Regions from separate parts of the Homo sapiens genome. Here regions 2, 3 and 4 are each linked to region 1. The links are contacts of gene promoters, found by promoter capture Hi-C in human tissues and cell types (Jung and others, 2019). All regions are on one chromosome and are shown on one strand. Each heading gives the region's core, a stretch centred on a gene start or on the middle of the fragment in contact. The rest is flanking DNA. Distances are from core to core; before and after follow the strand shown.

Evidence for each region. Contacts are between HindIII fragments. The study calls those that stand out against the background at their distance.
Region 2: a fragment that was not itself captured here is called in contact with the fragment with the promoter of RPL35A in region 1 in 2 of the 25 tissues and cell types used here (dorsolateral prefrontal cortex and lymphoblastoid cells).
Region 3: a contact is called between a fragment that was not itself captured here and the fragment with the promoter of RPL35A in region 1, in 2 of the 25 tissues and cell types used here (lymphoblastoid cells and thymus).
Region 4: a contact is called between a fragment that was not itself captured here and the fragment with the promoter of RPL35A in region 1, in 1 of the 25 tissues and cell types used here (hippocampus).

Annotation. Positions count from the first base shown.
Region 1 is chr3:197,948,304-197,951,818 of GRCh38, reverse strand. RPL35A (ribosomal protein L35a) reads right to left here and starts at 1,629. Exons shown (of 5, transcript NM_000996.4): 1 at 1,598-1,629; 2 at 841-883; 3 at 508-660. The coding sequence starts at 851. The region is part of intron 2 of DRC9 (dynein regulatory complex subunit 9); the gene reads left to right. RefSeq lists enhancers at 1-361, 1,145-1,927, 2,007-2,226. The HindIII fragment of the contact is 11,846 bases long and covers 1-3,515 here.
Region 2 is chr3:197,694,174-197,697,688 of GRCh38, reverse strand. RUBCN (rubicon autophagy regulator) reads left to right here. Exons shown (of 20, transcript NM_014687.4): 8 at 640-735; 9 at 1,708-1,823; 10 at 3,104-3,314. Among named protein-coding and RNA genes, the nearest start is that of MIR922, 21 kb to the right of the region's middle. The HindIII fragment of the contact is 8,342 bases long and covers 1-3,515 here.
Region 3 is chr3:198,111,708-198,115,222 of GRCh38, reverse strand. It overlaps the pseudogene FRG2FP. Among named protein-coding and RNA genes, the nearest start is that of FAM157A, 40 kb to the left of the region's middle. The HindIII fragment of the contact is 4,579 bases long and covers 1-3,515 here.
Region 4 is chr3:197,805,960-197,809,474 of GRCh38, reverse strand. All of the region lies in intron 1 of LRCH3 (leucine rich repeats and calponin homology domain containing 3), which reads right to left. Among named protein-coding and RNA genes, the nearest start is that of LRCH3, 16 kb to the right of the region's middle. The HindIII fragment of the contact is 8,087 bases long and covers 1-3,515 here.

The DNA of each region.
Region 1 (3,515 bases), core at 380-2,879:
GGCTGAGGCAGGAGAATCGCTTGAGCCAGGAGGCAGAGGCTGCAGCGAGCCAAGATCGCGCTACTGCCCTCCAACCTGGGCAACAGAGACTCTTGTCACAAAAACAAAAAAACAATACCAAGTACTTCAGCTAAATCTTTTGTTTATTATTTCAATAGGATAATGAGGCCAGGCGCGGTGGCTCAAGCCTGTAATCTCAGCACTTTGGGAGGCCGAGGTGGGCGGATCACCTAAGGTCAGGAGTTTGGGACCAGCCTGGCCAACATGGCAATACCCTGTCTCTACTAATAATACAAAAACTAGCCGGGCGTGGTGGCCGGCGCCTGTAATCCCAGCTACTCGGGAGGCTGAGACAGGACACTTGCTTGAACCCGGGAGGCGGAGGTTTCGGTGAGGGAGACCAAGTCACTGCATTCCAGCCTCGGCAACAGAGCAAGACTCCGTTATATAAAAAAGAAAATGAGGCAGATCTCAAAAACCCAAAACCTACCAGTGTCATAAACTTACTTCTTTGCTTTATATACATAAGCGCATCTCTTGCCCAAATAGAATTCTGTTTCATCTCGGGCGTAAACACCTTCAATTTTAAGAAGAGCTGTGTGCTCCCTTTGGTTCCGGAGACCCCGCTTATAGCCAGCAAAAATGGCCTTGGACCACAGCCTAAGACACAAAAGATACACAACATGAAACATAAGCTTCAAAAAACCAATCTGACTTGTAATCACCCCCACCCAAAAGTTACTCAGAGCAAACATCTAAGTTTTTTCTTGCCAATTTTAAGCTCGCATTTACGTTCACGTCTAACACACAAAAATAAAGAACTATATTTAAAACGCGTACCTTCCAGACATAGTTCCTTTTAGAAGTCCCGTTCCCAGCAGGCCTTAAAACAAACAAAAAGATTAGTTTAAAACCAAGCCACACAAGTTTCCCACCTCGTCCCCTCTCGTTTAAGCCCCTAAAGCAAATTCCTTTTGGATGGGAGTTTCATGTAGGAGTTCGGGGACAACAATGCCAGAACATCCATATGAAACGCAGGGTCCGGCAAGACATTCAAACCTCAGAGAACAGCTGGTATCTAAGCAAACTTCAGAATGAAGACAAAACTAAGGGACAGGAGTCACAAAAATGACTCTCAGAAAAGCCTGAGAAAATGCATGCCGTTATCAGTAGGCAACACTCAGGAAAAGAAATGAAGCCTTAAAGAGAAACACACACGTAAGACTTTTATGCAATGGCTGGGGGAGAAAAGCTGAGGAAAGAGACTGGTCAGACAAGCCAAGGAAGGTATGGACTGGGAGGAAACGGATGAAGGAAGCACTGCCTCATGGACAACTGCACACGAACAAAAACATCGTTTCACTCCGTTCAGGCCCAGGAATTTAACTGGGATAACCCGGGCAGCCGTTCTCCGGGTGTCAGGGGACCAAACACCATCAGCCCAACATCTCCTCCATCCTGTTCTCCCTCTTCTTGAAACCCGTAGAAATCAATGGCTGGCAGAGACTCCGATACGCACCGGCGACTCGCCAAGGCACAGGAACAAACCTACTCCGGTTATTTGCCCCCAAATTTCAGCAGCAGACCCTTCACTCACCTCCACAGGAGCCAAGATGGCGGTAAGAGAAGGACGAGGCCCCGCCGCGTGGCCTTGTGGGATTAAACATCTTTCGACTCCGCCCTCAATTTAGGCATCTTCTCCAAACGCCAGAAAAACAATCCTCGGAAATCGGCTTCGCACTGAAATAAGCCACATTCAATAGCACTCTTACAATTATTTTCCTAAGTCCTTTCATCTTGGTAGGCTGCAAAATGTACTACTTGGGAACAAGGGAAGGCAAAATGGTAGCCAGCTAAATCCGCCAAAGCTGTGCGTTGCCATAGAAACAACTTAGTTTACTTCCTGCGTCCCCGGACGCCGTAGGTGGAAAGGCGAACCCTGAGTGGAGGATGTTCCCGCTGCCTAAAGAATGATTGACTGTAAGATTGATTTGCCAACAGTGGGGTGCTTTTCTCTCGATACACACAGCAATAGACAGAACGGAAATTCTGGGATCCTAATCTAGCATGGAAGAGAAAGGCCGGGAGCACGAAGGCAGCAGGACCTCTTCCTTCTCTTTTTTCTTTTTCTATACTTCTTTTCTCCCCTCTACTTATTTATCTCTTTCAAGAAATGAGACTGGGCACAGTGGCTCACGCCTGTAAACCCAGCTCTTTGGGAAGCCGAGGCGGGAGGATCGCTTGAGGCCAGGAGTTCGAGACCAGCCTGGGCAACATAGTGAGACCACCTCCCCCAACCTCTACAAAAGAAAAAAAAAATGAATGAAATGACTTAAGTTCTTACCTCCATTCTTCTTTTTGGATCCGAGGTATGAGGAGGACTGCCTGCAGGAGGCTTTATCGCCCTTTTAGGAGAACTCGTTTAGCTGCCTCGTGTCCGCACCTAGTAGGTCCTCCGTAGATACTTGTAGAGGTGGATTAGTGGACGCCAGAGATTCACATTTCCGAATTATTGCATATTTATTTGGGTTATCCTATGGATTCATTCATTTATTTAACACATAGTTTAATGAATGACTACCCTGTACCAAGGTTTGTGTAAGATGACACGGCAGTAAACAAATCTATGCCCTCGTGGAGCTTATATCCTACGAGGCGGAGCAACACAATGAGCAAGTAAAAATAGATGACACGTTAGAAGATGATAATTTCTGTGAAGAAAATTAAGCAGAGAGGCCACTGTAAAAGAGGCTTTCCCCACTTTGAGATGGGAAGTATGTAAAAGAGGCTTCCCCTGCTTTGAGATGGGAACTATTTAAGGGTCCTGAACAGAAGGGTGACTCTATCTGACTTCTATATTGACAAAGTCACTGTGTTGAAAGTGAAGGGAGGCAAGGGTATCAGCAGGAAGATAATTATAGGTTCCTGTAGTGACTATGATGAGAGGTGATGGTGTGTAAACAGAGGATATTGAGTACTGGAATTCTGAATATATTTAAATTCTGGCAAGATTTGCTGGTGGATGAGGAATGAGAGAGAGTAAAGTATGACTCCGAAGTTGTATGAAATAGATGTATATAAGTCACTTTTAAAATCAGATCCTCTCTTAAATACAACAGGATAGAACTTGTACCTTGTAGCCTACTACCCCACCCAGTGTTCCCTGTCCCAGAAAGAAATGTGCTAGAAATTTCACTATTAGATATTGATTTGTCAAAGTTCTATATGGAAGTCCTCCTGGGAGGAATAACACATTAAGTGTGAGTTTCATTCGTTTGCTCGTGTATTATTCGTTCCACAAATACTTATTGAGCACTGAGACTTAGCACCTGATACAACTGTGAGCATCGTTGTCATGTTGCTGCTTTCATGGAACAGTTGTCTAGTGGGGGGAAACTGACACTAACGTAACAAATTGTGAACACAGCTCTGCGGGAAAGTAGTGGCATGAGTGCCCAGAAGCCTGATCTGGCCTGACGAGTCAGCGAAAGGATCACTTGGACAAGTGTCAGTTA
Region 2 (3,515 bases), core at 737-3,236, 250 kb after region 1:
TCTCCCTCCCAGCTCTCGCTCTTCCTGTCCCAGGCATTGTCTGTCTCGCCAGCCTTCCCTCCCTCCCTTCTTCAGTAAGGCCGGGCCGAGCCCCGTAACGGAGCCCTTTGCTTACAGGGCCCTCTCCCTGGGCTTCTCCAGCACTGCCTTGATGCTTCTTTTTAGGATGCTGCTGAATTTTATTTCCTTAGTGAATGTAAATCTTCTGATGTTACTTTAAAACCTAATGTCAAGATGTCAGAAAAGTTTCAATGCACTTGTCTTTGTTTTACCATCTAAAGACTTTTCTAAATTGGTTTGTCAAGAGGATAGGAATCAGCTGATATTCCTGTAATGTTTGGTTAAAAGATGTAAGGAAAGAGAAGCAAATTCCATGAATCCATTTTGATTTGATTCTTTCCTTTATGTTGCCCCATTCTGGATCACGTTTCTTCTTTTCCACTTAGAATGTACTGACCTGCCATCTCCTTCCCTCCCTGTGTTTCTGTACCCTTGGGCTGTTCCGTTGGTGTGCCGCCTCTCTCCTGCTTGGGAGGGCTTTGGGAAGGGGTGCAGTTAAGTGTTGAAACTCCAGAGTTGGGAATGTACCTGTTGCTCATTTCGTATGTGTTTTTACTCGCTGGTGGTCATCGTCATTAGAATCCTGCAATGATAAGGCGAAGTTGAGAGGCCCTTTGCCCTACTCTGGTCAAAGCAGTGAAGTCAGCACACCCAGCTCTCTGTACATGGAATATGGTGAGTACTAGGAAGGCCAGGGCTAAAATTGTATATTTTCTCTGCTCACCCCTTGTGCCTGCTAAGTTCTGAGTTTTGGGGTTCATCTCAGCTCTCTGGAGGGTACACACTGTTACAGTCTCAGTCACTCTTTTGTCATTTTTAACCCCCGTGCTAGAAATCACACTGCTCTGCCATTTCTCTTGCTTCTCTCTGACTTGGGGGTCCCACCCTCTCTTACGTGCTGGGTGTTCGCACCGGGTACGTCGGCTGGTCCAGATGGGATGGCTCTCTGAGTGGATGAGATGGACCTTGAAAAGAGGCCTTGGAGTATCTGGGCTTAGTAACCAGCAGACAGACTCTATGTGGAAATCATGCAGAGGAGGAAGCCATTTGTGTCCTTTTCTGCCTCCCAGCCCAAAGTTCTACATTTTTATTTTGTTTTTTCTTTACTGTATGGTACGAGGGAGAGCATGTTCTCTTTAATTTTAGATGGCAGAAGGATTCTCTCTGTTTATTCTACCGTTTTCCAACCAAGAGGCTTAGTGCTCTGGGATTCTAAGAGTCCAAGAAATTCTTTTTTGTTTTGTTTTTTTTTTTTTGAGACAGAGTTTTGCTCTTGTTGCCCAGGCTGGAGTGCAGTGGTGCGATCTTGGCTCACTGCAACCTCCGCCTCCCAGGTTCAGATGATTCTCCTGCCTCAGCCTCCTGAGTAGCTGGGATTACAGGCATGTGCCACCATGCCCAGCTAATTTTTGTATTTTTAGTAGAGATGGGGTTTCACCATGTTGGCCAGGCTGGTCTCAAACTCCTGACCTTGTGATCCGCCTGCCTTGCCCTCCCAAAGTGCAAGAAATTCTTTTAGAAGGTGGACATCTTCTTCCAACCTCTAATTCCCAGTTACCTGGGAAGACTTGGGAGCATCTTTAATGACAAAAGCTTAAGACTTCCTGAAGAAGCCTGGCTGTTTCATCCACATTCCATTTCCCACAGAAGGTGGTCGGTACCTGTGCTCAGGGGAAGGCATGTTCCGAAGACCATCAGAAGGACAGTCCCTCATCAGCTACCTCTCTGAGCAAGACTTCGGCAGCTGTGCCGACCTGGAAAAGGTGGGAAATCGAGGGCCTCATGAAGAGCTCATGAGTTGGGAGATTGGGTCTGAAGGTCTGTGGTGCCATTTGTTCTGATGAGGTTTTGGGTATAGATTACAGTAAAGATAAGTTCACGGTAAAGGGAAGCTCAGCAAGTTCTGTTTCTGAGGAACTCTGCAGGGAGCATGTGCCCCTCACTGAGTCCAAATTATTAGCGATTTTATCTTAGAAGCCAACCTGGGCAGAGAAGCATCAAGTTTGTGTGTGTGTTTTTGTTTTTTTGAGACAAGAGTCTTGCTCTGTCACCTAAGCTGGAGTGCAGTGTCACGGTCATGGCTCACTACAGCCTCAAATTCCTGGGCTCGAGCAATCCTCCCGCCTCAGCCTCCCGAGTAGCTGGGACTACAAACATGCACCACCACACCTGGCTATTTTTTTTATTTTTTTGTAGAGATGGGGGAGGTCTCCCTGTGTTGCCCAAGCTGGTCTTGAACTCCTGGGCTTGGCCTCCCTAAGTGCTGGGATTAACAGGTGTGAGCCCATGTGTCTGGGGTCTTGAACTCCTTGGCTTGGCCTCCCAGAGTGCTGGGATTCACAGGTGTGAGCCACTGCGTCTGGGGTCTTGAACTCCTGGGCTTGGCCTCCCAGAGTGCTGGGATTCACAGGTGTGAGCCGCTGCGTCTGGGGTCTTGAACTCCTGGGCTTGGCCTCCCAGAGTGCTGGGATTCACAGGTGTGAGCCGCTGCGTCTGGGGTCTTGAACTCCTGGGCTTGGCCTCCCAGAGTGCTGGGATTCACAGGTGTGAGCCGCTGCGTCTGGCAGCATTGTTTTTGCTGCATGATTGCGGTTCCCTTGACTCTGGCACCTTAGGTAAATACTGTTTCCAGAATCAAATTCTATCTTTTGTTCTAAGGCTCAGATAAGCAATAAATGACATCTGTGTAGCATTTTATAGACTACAAAGCACTTTTATCTTGAGACATAGCATTTATCTTAATATTTTGTGTACAGGTGTATGATTTTGGGAAAGAACCTGATTGAAATCCTGGGCCTCTTCTCTATCATATTTTTATGTAGAAATGAGACAGGAAGGGACAGGCTTGGCAAAGTAAGAGAGTGAAGAAAACCTAGAATAGGTTTTCCAGCCATCAGCTTTCCTCGTAGTAGAAATGTCCATTTCTCCAGGGTGTTTTTGGCAGGAACAGTTCCTATCTTGGAAACTCCCTTTTCCACATTATAATGAGTATGTCATTCAATACTTCTAACCCTTTGCCTGTTTGGTGCTCTCCTTCCGCCAGGAGAATGCCCACTTCAGCATCTCAGAGTCCTTAATTGCTGCCATCGAGCTAATGAAGTGCAACATGATGAGCCAGTGCCTAGAGGAGGAGGAAGTGGAAGAGGAAGACAGTGATAGAGAGATCCAGGAGCTGAAGCAGAAGATCCGCCTTCGGCGCCAGCAAATCCGCACCAAGAACCTGCTCCCCATGTACCAGGAGGCTGAGCACGGAAGTCAGTGGAGCCTGTGGATGCTTCTGTTCCCACATTTTCCCAACTTCAGCATAAGGCCTGGTGCCCAAACCAGTGGTTCCTCTGCTGTCAGATGTTTCTATGTAGTCCTACTTTTTTTCTATCATGCTAGGAATACTCATCCTAGAGTCGCTCCGTTTCCTGCATCAGAAATACCTGCCTTCCAGGCCAGGCAGAGTGGCT
Region 3 (3,515 bases), core at 587-3,086, 160 kb before region 1:
CTGTTCATTTAAGTTTTTGTCCACTCTTTAACTGGATTACTAGAATTTTTCTATAGAATATTTTGAACTCAATATATTGTAGTGTATTAGTCTGTTTCTGCACTGCTATAAAAAAAACTGAGACTGGGTTATTTATCTATTTATCTATTTATGTATTGAGATGAAGTCTTGCTCTGTCACCCAGGCTGGAGTGCACTGGCATGATCTTGGTTCACTGCAACCTCCAACTCCCAGGTTCAAGCAATTCTCTGCCTCAGCCTCTTGAGTAGCTGAGATTACAGGCACCCACCACCATGCCCAGATAAGTTTTGTATTTTCAGTAGAAATGGGGTTTCACCATCTTGGCGAGGCTGGTCTTGAACTCTTGACCTCGTGATCCACCTGCCTCAGCCTCCTAAAGTGCTGGGATTACAGGCATGCGCCACTGCGCCTGGCGAGACTGGGTAATTTATAAAGGAAATGGTTTAACTGAGTCACAGTTCCACATGGCTGGAGAGGCCTCAGGAAACTCACAATCATGGCAGATGGGGAAGCAGGCACCTCTTCCACGACAGCAGGCGAGAGAGCATGTATGTGAAGCAAAGGGGGAAGAGCCCCTTATAAAACCATCAGATCTCATGAGAACTCACTCATTATCAGAAGAACAGCCTGGGGGGAACCACCCCCATGATCCAATCACTTTCTGCCAGGTCTCTCCCTCAGCACCTGGGGATTACAATTCAGTATGAGATTTGGGTGGGCACACAAAGCCTAACCATATCATGTAGCTATTAATTGCTTTTCAGATGGGTAATTTACAAATATTTTCTCCCATTCTGTGGGTTTTCTCTTCACTTTATTGTTTCCTTCACTTTAAAAAAGCTTTCTTACTTGCTGTAATTCCATTTGTCCATGTTTGCTTTGGTTGTCTGTGCTTATGGGGCATAGTTTAAGAGATTTTTGCCCAAACCAATGCCCTAAAGAGTTTCCCCAATGTTTTCTTGTAAAAGTTTGACAGTCTGAGGCGTTAGGTTTAAGTCTTTAATTCATTTTCATTTTTGTATGTGGCAAGAAGTAGGGTTCTAGTTTCATTCTTCTGCCCATGGCTTGCCAGTTTTCCCAGCCCCGTTTGTTACAGAAACTGTCTTATTTTTTGTTGTATGTTCTTGACACTTTTGTTGAAAATAGGTTTAGTTTAGCTGTATGAGTTTGTTTCTAAGTTCTCCATTTCATTCCATTTGTATTTATGTCTGTTTTTATTCTAGTGTCATGCTGCTTCAATTGCTATACCTTGATAGTGGCCAGCAGGCCCCTTGCAGAGGGCAAAGCAACGTGGAATCCGAAGTCACGCTCCGGTCGCCCTGTGACTCCTGCGTGTTCGGGGCATCCGGCTCTGGCTCCGTGGCAGGGCCCGGCCCGGCGATGTGCGGTCCGTGAACCGCGCGGGCGGAAAGCGGGCGGCCGCCTGCGCTGCGGCCCTTGGGTGTTTCGGGAAGTCGCCCGTTCCTCGGGAGTCGGAACTGCTGAGACTCTCTCCGCGGCGAGCGGACCCAGGCGGGCGATCCGGAGGGACGTGAGCGCCCCGCGGGCCCAGCCCTCGGCCCGCCCTGGAGGCGGGAGACCGCTTTCCTCCCCGTCCCTCGCCCCGTCGCGCCTCCCCTGCCTTTCTTCTGTCTTTCCCGCCTCTCTTCCTCCCTCTCTTTTCTCCTCTCCAATGTCCCCGCCGCCGTCTGTCTTTTCCTCTCTCCGTCTCTCCCTTTCTCGCTGTCTCTGTTTTTCTTCTCATCTCTATTTCTTCAACCTTATATGATGCTACTGTATCTCTGTGTTACTGTTATTTGTTGCAAGTGTACTTTGCAACAAAGTACGTTTCGTGAAGATATTTACATTCCCATTTAGACACGTTATTTAGGTATGTGCATTTGTTTAATAGACGTAAGGGTGTTTCAGACTTATTCTACAGCACAGTTTAAGCATAATTTTTATAAGCACTGACAACCCGAAAATTGTGTGACTCACATGCCTGTGATTTTTTTCCGTTGCACTGGTCTTGAACAAAAGCTCTACATCTGCAATTTATATCTGTGTGGTATCATCGAATCGCCCCGTTTACTGGAGTGACAGAACACGATTTCCCGACTACGACAAGAGCTATGGGCAGTGGGGAGGTCAGGGTTAGGATGACACAGAAATAAAGATAAGTCATTCTCTTTTTCACATCTATAGTAAACACTAATTCCATATGAAAGTAAGACAAAATTATCTTGAAATTTAAAATTCCAAACAACATCAATGTACATTATTACATATAATGAAAATTATAAAGCAACCAAATAATTAAAACAAATAATGAAAGATTGTATGACCTCAATATAAAATACAAGTAGAATATATGTTAAATATAACAAAATACACTTTATTGTAGTATATTATGAAATCTCCATATCCTGCAATACAATACAATCAATTGAAATGTGTAAGATACAATAGGATTTAATTTAGGATGTTTATAATGAAAACATGAGGCAGGTGAATAAATGAGTACACTCATTTACCATTTAATATATCGTTACTTAATTTTTTTGTAAAAATATTAAAAGTAAACACCTTGCATGGTAATTTTACTATAATTATATCAAACTTTAAAATGTGTAATCATTTTTCCACAGCAAGTGCTATTAATGTTTTTTGGATATTAGTACTTCACGGGTTCAGGCTAGAAGAGTGAGAGCCTACAACCTATTCTGAAATAAAAGAGGAGCAATTTCTTGGTAAGGCGGTTCATGCCTGTAATCCCAGCACTTTAGGAGGTCAAGGCTGGCGTATCACTTGAGTTCGAGACCAACCTGGCCAACGTGACAAAACTCTGTCTGTACTAATAATACAAAAAAAAAAAAAAAACAAAAATAGCCAGGCATGGTGGTATATGCCTGTAGTCCCAGCTACTTGAGAGGCTGAGGCATGAGAATTGTTTGAACCCAGGAAGCGGAGGTTGCAGTGAGCTAAGATTGTGTCACTGCATTCCAGCCTGGGTAACATTTCTTTTCTACAATCTAAAATATGCAAACTCATATGATCACATTCTAATATTTTCCTGATTACATAGAAATGCATGACTGTCACCAGACCTCCATATCTAACATGAAATATAAAATTTGTCTATAGCATCGGCCTTTTACAAAAAAGCTTACCATTCTGATTATATTGTTCAAATTTATTTCCTATGATTTCTTCATGTTCTGTCATTTATTAACACAGTGCATCTAATATTGTCACTGCTGGTCATCTAGAAAAATCTGAGCAGTAGCAGGTCCTTGTTCTCATTCCCAGAGCTGCATCCTCTGCTGAATAGGGCCAGGGTCCTCTCAGCTCAAGCCTCATCTGATCCACTGACATGCTCAGTTACATCATGCCCAAAAAAGGGTGAGCTTCTCTATTCAGGCCTCTATCCCCAGGACCAGACAGTGTGGCTGAGACAAGCCAACCCTCAGCAGGTAAGACTTAAGCTCCCTGGGTGGCAATGGCATAGAAGGTCT
Region 4 (3,515 bases), core at 270-2,769, 140 kb after region 1:
AAGGGCTGAAAAATGAACTGAAGTGAAAGCTTCCTAAGTTTGGCAAGAGTCATGAACCTGTAGATTCAAGAAGCTGAGCAAACCCCAAAGAGGATAAACCCAAAGACATCCACAAGACACACTATAGCCAAACTTCTGAAAACGGAAGACAGAGAAAAAAAGTCCTTTTTTTTTTTTTAGACAGGGTCTCACTCTGTTACCCCAGCTGGAGTGCAGTGGCACAATCATGGCTCACTGCAACCTCTACCTCTTGGGCTCGAGAGATCCTCCCACCCCAGTCTCCTGAGGAGCTGGGACTACAGGCACACACCACCACTCCTGACTAATTTTTGTATTTTTGGTAGAGAAGACGTCTCACTATGTTGTCCAGGCTGGTCCTGAACTCCTGACCTCAAGTGATCCTCCTGCCATGGCCTCCCAAACTGCTGGGATAACAGGCATGAGCCACCATGCCTGGCCAAGAAAAAAAAAATATTGAAAGCAGTAAGAGAGAGACAATTGAAATGACAGTAGATTTCATATCAGAAACCATGGAAGCCAGAAAGAAGTGGCAGAACATCATCCTTTTTTTTTCTGAGACAGTCTCACTGTCACCCAGGTTGGAGTGCAGTGGCACAATCACAGCTCACTGCAGCTCTGATCTCCTGGGCTCAAGTGATCCTCCCACCTCAGCCTTCCAGGTAGCTGAGACTACAGGCATGTGCCACCATGCCCAGCTAATTTTTGGAGAGATGGGGTTTCGCCACATTGCCCAGGCTGGTCTTGAAACTCCTGGGCTCAAGTGATCTGCTCATCTCGGCCTCCCAAAGTGTTTCAATTACAGGCATGAGCCACTGCGCCTGGCCCAACATCTTCCAATCACTAAAAGAAAGACTGTTCACCCAGAATTGTATATATATCCAGCAAAATGTCCTTCAGGAATCAAGAGGAGATCAACACATTCTCAGATGAATGAAAACTGAGAGAGTCTGTAGCAGCAGATGTAATCTAAAAGAATGAGTAATGGAAGTTCTCTAAATAGAAAGTAAGTGGTGAAAGAAAGGAATCTTAAAACACCAAGAAAGGACACAGCGTATGAGTTTGCTAGAGCTGCCACAATAAAATACCACACAGTGGGCAGCTGAAACGATACAAATGTATTTTCTCAAATTCTGGAGGCTAGAAGTCTGAGATGAAGGTGTTAGCAGGGTTGCTTTCTTCTGAGGTCTCTCTCACTGGCTTGCAGATGCTGTCTTCTCTCTGAGTCTTCATATCATCTTTCCTCTTTGTCTTTGTCCTAATCTCCTCTCACAGGGACATCACTTGTATTGACTTACAGCCCAGCCAAATGATGCCATCTGAACTTAATTACCTCTTTAAAAGTACTACCTCCAAACACAATCGCAGATACTGAGAGTTAGGACTTCAATGTATGAATTTGTGGGTGACGGACAAAATTCAGTACATAACACTAAGCAAAAATATGGGTAAATATAAAAGACTTTCCTTCTCTTGAGTTTTCCAAATTATATTGGAAGCAAAAATTATAAGACTGTTTGATGTGATTCTAAATATTTATAGAGAAAATATTTAAGACAACTATAACAGGGAAAGAAAAGGGACATGAAGGGGGTAAGGTTTCTATACGTCACTCAAACTCATAAAATAAGGATACCAATAGACTGACAAGTTGGACTTCTCTCATGTAATACCTAGGGCAGCAACAAAGAGAGCTACACAAAGAGATACACTCAAAAACACTACAGAGAAATAAAAATGGAATTCTAAAAAATGTTCACGAACCCCACAGGAAGGCAAGAAAAAGAACACAGAAAGGAAAACAAAGGAAACAACAAATAAAATGGCAGACTTAGGCCCTAACACATCAACAATGATATGAAATACAAATTATCTAAAAGACAGATCAAATGACCAAAATACAGAGATTAGCAAAGTGGATTTAAAAACATGATGCGGCCGGGCATGGTGGCTCACACCTGTAATCTCAGCACTTTGGGAGGCCAAGGCGGGCGGATCACAGGGTCAGGAGATCGAGACTATCCTGGCTAACCCGGTGAAACCCCGTCTCTACTAAAAAGAAATACAAAAAAATGAGCTGGGCGTGGTGGCGGGCGCCTGTACTCCCAGCTACTTGGGAGGCTGAGGCAGGAGAATGGTGTGAACCCGAGAGGCGGAGCTGGCAGTGACCCGAGATCGCGCCACTGCACTCCAGCCTGGGCGACAGAACGAGACTCCGTCTCAAAAAAAAAAAAAAAATGCAACTCTATGTTATTTACAAGAAACTCACTTCAAGTAGAAGGATATAGGCTGAAAGTAAAAATTAGCACCCAAACAGGAGAGGTCTAATTCCTCATTAACTCCCAATACCTGCTCCCCTAAAGCAATCACTTTTAACTCTTGTATGTGTGTATGCATGTTTGTTTGTTTTTTTTTTTTGACACAGGGTCTCGCCCTGTCGCCCAGGCTAGGGTGCAGTGGTGCAATCACAGCTCACTGAAACCTGGAACTCCTGGGCTCAAGTGATTCTCTGACCTGAGCCTCCTGAGTAGCTGGGACCACAGGAATGCGGAACCATGTCAGGCTAATTTTTCTTTTAAATCTTTTGTAAAAATGGGGTCTCAGGAGCCGGATGCAGTGGCTCACACCTGTAATCCCAGCACTTTGGGAGGCTGAGGCGGGTGGATCACTTGAGGTCAGGAGTTCAAGGGCAGCCTGGACAACATGGTGAAACTCCACACCAAACTAATTTTGTATTTTTAGTAGAGACAGGGTTTCACCATGTTAGCCAGGGTGGTCTTGAACTCCTGACCTCAGGTGATCCACCTGCCTCAGTCTCCCAAAGTGCTGGGATTACAGGAGTGAGCCACCATGTCCGGCATTCCTATGCCCTTTTCTTAGAGACCCTTATTATATTTCATGTCTGCAGTACCTTCTTTTCTGACTTTTAGGATATTGATTCCAGATTTTTGGAAGTTTTTCTTTTGTCAGCACTGTCTGTTTTCTCTGGGTTCCTTTTGTTATGTTCTTCTCTTTGATGTCAGAAATGTTCTTCAAGGCCAGGCACTCATGCCTGTAATCCTAGCACTTTGAGAGGCTGAGGTGAGAGGATCATTTGAGCTCAGGAGTTTGAGACCAGCCTGGGCAACACAGTAAGATCCCTGTCTCTACTAAAATTAGAAAAAAGAAAAAAGAGAAATGTTCTTCAACTATCTAGTAGTATTTAGTTTTCTTTTCATATTTAAAAACATAGGCCAGGCGCAGTGACTCACACCTGTAATCCCAGCACTTTGGGAGGCCGAGGCAGGTGGATCACCAGAGGTCGGGAGTTCATGACCAGCCTGACCAATATGGAGAAACCCCGTCTCTACTAAAAATACAAAATTAGCCGGGTGTGGTGGCACATGCCTGTAATCCCAGCTACTCGGGAGGCTGAGACAGGAGAATCACTTGAACCCGGGAGGCAGACGTCGCAGTGAGCCAAGATCGCACCATTACACTCCAGCCTGGGCAACAAG